Linked DNA regions of Homo sapiens: regions 1 and 3 are each linked to region 2. The links are contacts of gene promoters, found by promoter capture Hi-C in blood cells and fetal thymus (Javierre and others, 2016). All regions are on one chromosome and are shown on one strand. Each heading gives the region's core, a stretch centred on a gene start or on the middle of the fragment in contact. The rest is flanking DNA. Distances are from core to core; before and after follow the strand shown. Region 1 overlaps RITA1 (RBPJ interacting and tubulin associated 1). Region 2 holds the start of PLBD2 (phospholipase B domain containing 2). Region 3 overlaps DDX54 (DEAD-box helicase 54).

Region 1 (2,735 bases), core at 135-2,634, 170 kb after region 2:
CCTGCTAATATTTTTATTTTTTGTAGAGACAGGGATCTCACTATGTTGCCCAGGCTGGTCTCAAACTCTGGAGCTCAAGCGATCCTCCCACCTCAGCCTCCCAAAGTGCTGGGACTACAGGCCTGAGTCAGCCTGTCTGGCCTTTTTTTTTTTTTTTTTTTTTATTCAACAGATATTCACGGCATACCTGCAAGATTCCACGCCCATAGTTTTTTTGGCCAGGACTGAAAGTGCTTCTATCCCCAAACTGCAAGTCTTTGAAAGGGCAAGCTTTTGCCACTTGGTTTAGCTGCTCAAACCACATTGGCTAATGCCTGTATATGTCTGGTGCCAAGGTTTTTGCTCAATAACTTCTCTACCTCTTATGCAACCCCTCACTTGACACCCTCTACCTGTTGGCATCCAGAAGAAAATTCCACCCTCCAGGTGAGCAAGGAGTTGTCACCTCCCTTTTCATGGACACCATACTTCCTAATGCAGCCTATCTTTACCTCAGTGTTTTCAGCCATGTTGTAGGTATCAGTGTTGCTAATCTCCACCTGACCCTGCCTTGTCTACAGAACTGGCAATAACTGATTCTTGTTTTTATAATAGGTATCATTCCCATTCTCATTTCATTTCTCTCATCTGAAATATGTCCCTGTGGTTCAGAATGAACCCTAACTTTAGCTGGCCAGTTCTTATGGACTGAATTGTGCCCACCCAAATTCATATGTTGAAGCCCTAACCCCAAATGTCTCTACACTTGGCCTTAATTATTTAGATTAATTAAAGGTAATTAAGGCTGGCCAGACATGGTGGCTCACATCTGTAATTCCAGCACTTTGGAAAGCAGAGGCGGGAGAACGACTTGAGCTCAGGAGTTTGAGACCAGCCTGGCCAACACAGTGAAACCCCGTCTCTACTAAAAATACAAAAATTAGCCAGGCATGGTGGCGTGCACCTGTAATGCCAGCTACTCGGGAGGCTGAGGCAGGAGAATTCCTTGAACCCGGAGGTGGAGGCTGCAGTGATCCGAGATGGTGCCACTGCACTCCAGCCTGGGCGACAGAGCCAGACTCCATCTCAAAAAAAAAAAAAAAAAAAAAAAAAAAAAAAAAAAAAAAAAGGTAACTAAGGCTAAATAACATTATAAGGGTAGGGGATCCTAATCCAATAGAACTGGTGTCCTTATGAGAGGAAGAGACATCAGGGGTGTGTGTGTATACAGAAAAGGCCCTTGCATGTAATTGAAGGATTAAAAAAAAATGAGAAAAGGCCCTATGATGACACTGTGAGAACGTGGCCAACTGCAAGCCAAGGAGAGAGGCCTCAGGAGAAACCAAACCTGCCAACACCTTGATCTTGGGCTTCCAGCCTCCAGACTGTGACAAAATAAATTTGTGTTGTGGCCAGGCGCGGTGGCTCATGCCTGTAATCCCAGCACTTCGGGAGGCCAAGGCAGGTGGATCACCTGGTCGGGAGTTCAAGATCAGCCTGACCAACATGGAGAAACCCCGTCTCTACTAAAAATACAAAATTAGCCAGGCATGGTGGCGTAATCCCAGCTACCAGGGAGGGTGAGGCAGGAGAATCGCTTGAACCTGGGAGGCAGAGGTTCAGGTTAGCTGAGATGGCTCCACTGCACTCCAGCCTGGGCAACAAGAGCAAAACTCCGTCTCAAAAAAAAAAAAAAAAAATTAAGTCAGGCATGGTGGCATGTGCCTGTAGTCCCAGCTACTCAGGAGACTGAGGCAGGAGAGTCGCTTGAACCCGGGAGGTGGAGGTTGTGGTGAGCCAAGATCGTGCCACTGCACTCCAGCCTGGGCAACAGAGCGAGACTCCATCTCAAAAAAAAAAAAAATTGTGTTGTTTAAGCCACCCAGTCTGTGGTATTTTGTCATGGTGGCCCTAGCCAACTACTGTGCTAATCTTCTGTGTCTTTGTCCAAACCACTGATAACAATAAACAGGACAGAGCCCTGTGGCTCACCACTAGACACCTCCCTCCAGGCTGATATTAATCTGAAACAGTCCAAATAATCTAATTCTAATCTAATTAATTAACAACAATAACAATTTGCATTAGTTCCTATTTTTCTAACTTGTTCATAAAAATGCAGCAAGAACCATTTTCAATTTTTTTTTTTTTTTTTTTTTGGAGACAGGGTCTCACTCTGTCACTCAGGCTGGAGTGCAGAGGCGTGATCTCAGCTCATTGCAATCTCTGCCTCCTAGGCTCAAGTGATCCTCCCACCTCAGCCTCCCGGGAGCTGGGAGTACAGGCGCACACCACCACACTTGGCTAATTTTTGCATTTTTTATAGAGACACAGTTTCACCACGCTGCCCAGGCTGGTCTCAAACTCCTGAGCTCAAGTGATCCCACCTCAACCTCCAAACGTTCTGGGATTACAGGCATGAGCTACCCCATGTGGCCAAAACCCATTTTCAAAATGACTTCAGAAACACCACATCTATGTCATTTCAAGGATCGAACACATTAATATTAATAAGCTTATGCAAATTTCTCTGTGATCTTATGCCTCAGCTGACTCCTCTGGGCCTCAGATGCCCAGTTTGTGACATTTGGGGATAGGGAGTTCACCATCACAACCATCAACACTACCATTTATTGACAGCTTTCTAAGTATTAGGTTACTGTGCGAAGCACTGCAGACCCCTCTCTCATTTAATCCATCAACAATCCCCCTAGGTAGGAATAATTGGTCCTATTTTCCACATGAGTAAACTGGCT
Region 2 (3,144 bases), core at 17-2,516:
ACAAGGCTTTGAAGCTGATCCTTCCCACTCCCACTGACTCTGATTTCTCTTCTATCGCTGTCTGTGTTTCCCACTGAGTAGAGACAGCTGCTCAGCTGTGTCCCTAAGGCCAACCATCAGGGTAATGAATAAATGAATGGGCACAAGCCCTTGTACAGAACTTGCAGCACATGACCACCCAACTAGAGCACATCCTCAAAATCTGGGCCACAGATGGGGAAACGGGAGCCCAGACAGGCGGAGGAGTTAGGTGAGACTCACACATCAGAATGACAGCCTGGGTTCCAGCAATAAAGATGGTGAGCATGGCTGCCAAACACGGCATCCAGCCAAGGACTTCCCCTTGGACCAGGACACAGAAGACAAGGGAGGAGCAGAGCCCTAGCAGGATACTAAATGGGTCTATGTGACTTTAGGGACCCTCTGCTTTTGGACTAGCCTGGAACCCAGGTTCAGTCCTGCTGACCTGGCACTGGAAGGGAGGCAGGGTGCTGGCACCCACGAGCAAGCCACAGCCAAGCAGGTAAGAATTAGTCTCCTGCTGAGTTCTCATCACCCCTCAGGCCTGGGGACAGGGGGCTGGCCTCCATGGGGTGAGGAGGCAAAGTCTAGGGAAGGGAGCAGGTCCCCGTGAGGATAGAATTTACCCACCAGCCATGGACCTGATCCAGATGCAGGCACTGCGGCCTCGGTGGTAGGGAACTGGCTTCTTGGGGACAGAAGTACTGTCACCACTGGCTGAAGGCAAGGGACTGGCCCCATGAGGTGAGGGATGCCGCAGTAGCCAGCTCCCAAACAGGGTACTTGGCCCGCAGGGCGGTGCTGCAGCCTCGGGAGTAGCTGACCCCCAGAGAAACGGGCGTTCCCACCCGGCAAGAGGCCGGTCCCGGGAACAGGCGAGGTCCGGCGCCCACGCATCCCCCTCCCCCGATGGCCCCGCGTGGGGATAAGCCAACCCTTACCCAGTCTCGCGGATGGCGTTGGTGAGGTTGGCCCAGGCCACGGCGTCAGGGTGGCGTCCGTCCACCATAAGCAGCTGGCCCGCCGAGACGTCCAGGAGCACCGAGCGGCTGCGGGAGGCTGGAGGGACCTGCCCATCGCGCGCCCAGCGGCCCCCCGGCGCTGGGATCGCCCCCGCCAGGCCGCTCAGGAACGGCCCGACCAGCAGGGCCAGCACCAGGGCCAGCGCCAGCGCCCGCGTCAGCGCCCGGGCCAGGTGGCTGCCGGGGTAGCAGTACATCTGGCCCACCATGACCGCACAATGCTGCGCCCCGCAGCCCGGGTCACGTGACTGCGCTCTGCCATGGGCGGGGCCGAGGGCGGGCGGGGCCGGGCTTGGGCTGAGCCTTTCCGGGATGGGAGGGGCTGGCGCGAGGGGAGGCCTACGGGGCGGGACCCACCTTAAAGAGCCCGGCCGCCCCTTCCACCTACGCAAACCCGGTTTAGCACACTTCCCCAAGTTTTTTTTTTTTTTTTTTTTTGAGACAAGACAAAACCTCCATATGTCGCCCAGACTGGAGTGCAGTGACGCGATCTCGGCTCATTGCCACCTCCGCCTCCCGGGTTCAAGCGATTCTCCTGCCTCATCCTCCTGAGTAGGTGGGATTACAGGCGCGCACCACCACGCCCAGCTGATTTATGTAATTTCAGTACAGACGGGGTTTCGCCATGTTGGCCAGGCTGGTCTTGAACTCCTGACCTCAGGTGATCCGCCTGCCTCAGCCTCCCAAAGTGCTGGGATTACAGGGGTGAGCCACCGCGCCCGGCCAGATTTATTTAATGGTATTTGCCATTTATTTAATACAGTTATCTAATGCAGTCTTTATTCCAACTTTTCCCATTGTCCCTCAAATACCCTTTTTACATGTGTGTGGGAAAAAGCTGTCTAACTACTACTCAAAACCTAGATGCCGTCGGGCGCGGTGGCTCACGCCTGTAATCCCAACACTCCAGGAGGCCAGGGCGGGCGAGTTCAGGAGTTCAAGACCAGCCTGGGCAACATGGTGAAACCCCCGTCTCTACTAAAAATACAAAAAAGTAGCCGGACGCAGTGAGGCGCGCCTATAGTCCCAGCTACTCGGGAGACTGAGGTAGGAAAATCACCTGAGCCCGGAAGGTCGAGGCTGCAGAGAGTCGAGATTGCACCACTGCACTCCAGCCTGAGCAACCAGAATGAGACCTTGTCTCAAAAGAAAAAAAAAAAAAAAAAAACCTAGATGCAATAAAAGATTAATGCATTTGACTGTATAAATTTTTTAACTTTTTCATGTCAAAAAACTCAATAAGCAAAGTCAAAAGACATCTGACAGACCAGGAGAAACTATTTGCAACATATATCATATATATACATTACATATATATATGTATATATATCTCAACATATATCATATAATATATCAGGAACTCTTAAAATTTGAGAGGGAAGGCCAGGTGAGTGGTTCATGCCTGTAATCACAGCACTTTGGGTGGCCAAGGTGGGAGGAATGCTTGAGCCCAGGAGTTTGAGACCAGCCTAGGAAACCTGGCAAGACTCTGTCTCTATAAAATATAAAAATTAGCTGAGCTTGGTGGTGCACACCTGTAGTCCTGTTGTGGGAAACTGAGGAACGGAGAGACCAATATGAGAGAACAGGAGGATGTTTATTTCAACGTACGCACTGGCTCAGTGGATTCACATCCAAAAAGCTGAGCCTAGAACAAAGATATTGTGGGGTTTTTATAAGCAAGCTTAGAAAGGTAAAACAAAAGTAGTTAATCATATAGTGCATAACTTGTGGCCTTGCATAGCTGGTGGCCTTGTAGCTGCATCAAAAGTAAAACAAGAACTGGCTAAATAGAGAGGTTTGTAAAACATAGTCATGCTTAAGAGACCAAGGAAAGGAATAGCAATAAAATAATTTGTCTTTCTCTCTTTTTTTTCCTTCAACCTTGCTCTGGAGGCGGGCGGTGGGGTGGAGGGCGGGGTCTGGAGCCCAGTCCTCTGGCCTTGGCTTTTCGGACAGCGTTATCTTATAACTGTCCTTGAAGTGAGCTGCTAAGCAGAGGAAAACTTGTTCTTCTTCTTTTTTAACCCTTGCCTTGCCACATTCTGGGCCTTAGCTCTTACTTCTCTTGGAGTGAATATATGTAGTACTTATTATTATT
Region 3 (3,036 bases), core at 227-2,726, 190 kb after region 2:
AAAGTAGACATAGCATGCAATTCAGCATTTTGCCATTTCCCAGTGTGCAGTGGAGTGGCATTGAGTCTGTTCCCATTGTGCAACTGTCACCACCATCTGTCCCCAAAACTTTTTTTTTTTTTTTTGAGAGTCTTGCTTTGTACCCCAGGCTGGAGTGCAGGGGTGTGATCTCGGCTCACTGCAACCTTCACCTCCCAGGTTCTAGCTATTCTCTTGCATCAGCCTCCCGAGTAGCTGGGATTACAGGTGCTCGCCACCAGGCCCAGCTAATTTTTTGTGTTTTTAGTAGAGACAGGGGTTTCACCATGTTGGCCAAGGTGGTCTTGAACTCCTAACCTCAAGTGATGCATCTGCCTCAGCCTCCCAAAGTGCTGTGATTACAGGCGTGAGCCACCATGCTTGGCCCCAGAACTTTTCCATCTTGCAAAATTGAAGCTCTATCCGTCAGACAAAATCTCCTTATTCCCCTCCCGCAGCCCCTGGTAACTGTTATTCTACTTTCTTTGCCTTCTTTTAATTCATAAGTGTCATGTGGTGGGTGCACTTCCCCCTTGTTGCTGTCTGCTGTCCCCTAGTTTCTGTTGCTGTGTGGAGAGCTGGTTCTGCATGTCCCTAGGGAGGTCCCCAGGACGCCCCCAAAGGGAATTTCTTGTGCCTCACAAGACCAACAGTGCCGGTCAGACAACCTCAAATGAAATCTCCAAATGTCATAACACCTTGTTTTCCCAAGATACAGAGACAAACCAAAATATAATGCTATGTAGTGATTTAGGTACTTCATGCAAAATTGCAATCATATTGGGTGTTCTTTTTTATAACTGGCTTTTTGTTTTTTTCTTTTTACATCACCATACATCACGAATGTTTTTCGTTTACTATGAAATGTCATTCTGTGATGGGTTGGCACATCTTTTCTGTAAGGGGCTAGACATGAAACGTTAGGCTTTGTGGACCATACTGTCTCTGTCATAACTGTTCATCTCTGCTGCTGTCGTGTGACTGCTGCCTATTCATTTATATAGATAATATATAAACAAATGAGTGTGGCTGTGTTCCAATAAATCTTTATTTACACAGACAAGCAGGGGGCCGGGATCTCACTCTGTTGCTTGGGCTCTAGTGCTGTGGCATGATCATAGCTCACTGTAAGCTTGAACTCCCAGATTCAAGCAATCCTCCCAGCTCAGCCTCCCAAGTACTTAGGGCTACAGGCACACACCATCACATCTGGCTAATTTTCGTTTTTTGTAGACATGGGGTCTTGCTATTTTGCCCAGGCTGTTCTCGAACTCCTGGCCTCAAGTGATTCTCCCACCTCAGCCCCTCAAAGTGCTGTGATTACAGGCGTGAGCCACCAGCCTGGCCCTGTAGGCTGCAGTTTGCCCACTCTTTTCCTGAGCTGTTTAATTCCCACTGTGTGGCCATCAGCTAATTCACTTATCTAGTCCTCTACCCTTGAGACTTTAGTTTCCAACTTGGGGCTGTCCTAGTCAGGGCCACACTAAACCTCCTTGTGTGTGAATCTTTACATCTTTGCGGGGAATTCTCAAAAGTGGGGACACTGAAGAGTTTTGATCATGCTCATGAGCAGGGCCTTGCTGTATTTTTGCTAGTCTCCCAGAGCACTGTGTCAGCTTGGGCACACTCTCACAGATCAACCTAGGGACCGGGATTAAACTTCCCTGTGCGTAGGTGGGGACAGCAGCCGTGTGAGGTTCGAGGCTTGGCCAGGCTCACCTGCTCAGGGTCTGGCCTGTGGAACTCATGCTGGGTCCGGGTCCTTCTTTGCTTAATTAAGCTTGAACGTCTCCTTGCTGCAGGCCGTGTGGCTCGGGCTGGCCGAAGTGGCACAGCCTACTCCTTGGTGGCCCCTGATGAAATCCCCTACCTGCTGGATCTGCACCTGTTCCTGGGCCGCTCCCTCACCCTCGCCCGACCCCTCAAGGAGCCCTCAGGTGAGTGGAGGCTGGGTGGGGATAGGGGTCCCCGTGGAGTTCATGGGCCCTGTTTTGGCTGTGGGAGGAGGTAGGGCTGGGTTTGACCCCAGCAGAAGATGATTCCTTTTATTTATTTTATTGTATTTTATTTGTTTTGTTTATTTTTTGAGACAGAGCCTCGCTCTGTTGCCCAGGCTGGGGTGCAGTGGTGTGATCTTGGCTCACAGCAACCTCTGCCTCCCAGGTTCAAGCCATTCTCTTGCCTCAGCCTCCCGAGTAGCTGGGACTATAGATGCCCGCCACCACGCCTGGCAAATTTTTTATTGTATTTTTAGTAGAGACAAGGTTTCACCATGTTGGCCAGGCTGATCTCGAACTCCTGACCTCAAGTGATTCGCCCACCTCCCAAAGTGCTGGGATTACAGGTGTGAGTCACTGCGCCCGGCTGATTCCTTCTATTTTTTAACGAGACGGGGTCTTACTCTTGCTCAGGCTGGAGTGCAGTGGTGCGATCATGGCTCGCTGCAACTTCCAACTCCTGGGCTCAAGCAAGCCACTATGCCTGGCTAATCCCTCTATTTTAAACTCAGGATTTCCCACAACAATCCAGATTTCTGGTATCTACTGGGAAACAGTTGGATCTGGGTGCTAAGCTGTGGCACCCCCATTAGACAGGCTTCCTGGTCCCCTGCAGCCCCTGCCTGCCTCCCCTTCCTGTCAGTGTGGCCTGCCCAGCCCCTGCAGGCATCTAGTGTGTGACCCTATACTTGATGAGTTTTCAGGGGAGCGCAGCGGAGGGAAAGAGAGGCTGAGGCTCATTCAGACCAAGCCCACAGGACATTTTTAATTTATTTATTGAGACAGAGTTTCGCTCTTGTTGCCCAGGCTGGAGTGCAGTGGTGCAATCTTGGCTCACCACAACCTCCGCATCCTGGGTTCAAGCGATTCTCCTGCCTCAGCCTCCCGAGTAGCTGGGACTGCAGGCACACACAACCACGCCCAGCTAATTTTGTATTTTTAGTAGAGACAGGGTTTCACCATGTTGGCCACGCTGGTCTTGAACTTCTGATCTCAGGTGATCTGCCCGCCTCGGCCTCCC

The links. The method cuts DNA at HindIII sites, captures the fragments that hold promoters and counts their contacts. A CHiCAGO score of 5 or more calls a contact.
Region 1: a contact is called between a fragment that was not itself captured here and the fragment with the promoter of PLBD2 in region 2, in 14 of 17 cell types (fetal thymus, naive CD4 T cells, naive B cells and 11 more). The highest score is 13.3, in fetal thymus.
Region 3: a contact is called between a fragment that was not itself captured here and the fragment with the promoter of PLBD2 in region 2, in 3 of 17 cell types (fetal thymus, total CD8 T cells and neutrophils). The highest score is 6.5, in fetal thymus.

The regions. Positions count from the first base shown.
Region 1 is chr12:113,187,161-113,189,895 of GRCh38, reverse strand. All of the region lies in intron 3 of RITA1 (RBPJ interacting and tubulin associated 1), which reads right to left. Among named protein-coding and RNA genes, the nearest start is that of RITA1, 2.8 kb to the right of the region's middle. RefSeq lists an enhancer at 2,534-2,735. The HindIII fragment of the contact is 2,224 bases long and covers 273-2,496 here.
Region 2 is chr12:113,356,709-113,359,852 of GRCh38, reverse strand. PLBD2 (phospholipase B domain containing 2) reads right to left here and starts at 1,266. Exons shown (of 12, transcript NM_173542.4): 1 at 963-1,266. The coding sequence starts at 1,252. It overlaps LOC105369989 (a long non-coding RNA gene), which reads left to right and starts at 343. Exons shown (of 3, transcript XR_945346.3): 1 at 343-523. RefSeq lists an enhancer at 8-507 and silencers at 843-902, 953-1,452. The HindIII fragment of the contact is 3,133 bases long and covers 1-2,729 here.
Region 3 is chr12:113,168,689-113,171,724 of GRCh38, reverse strand. DDX54 (DEAD-box helicase 54) reads left to right here. Exons shown (of 20, transcript NM_024072.4): 12 at 1,821-1,955. Among named protein-coding and RNA genes, the nearest start is that of MIR7106, 11 kb to the right of the region's middle. The HindIII fragment of the contact is 648 bases long and covers 1,153-1,800 here.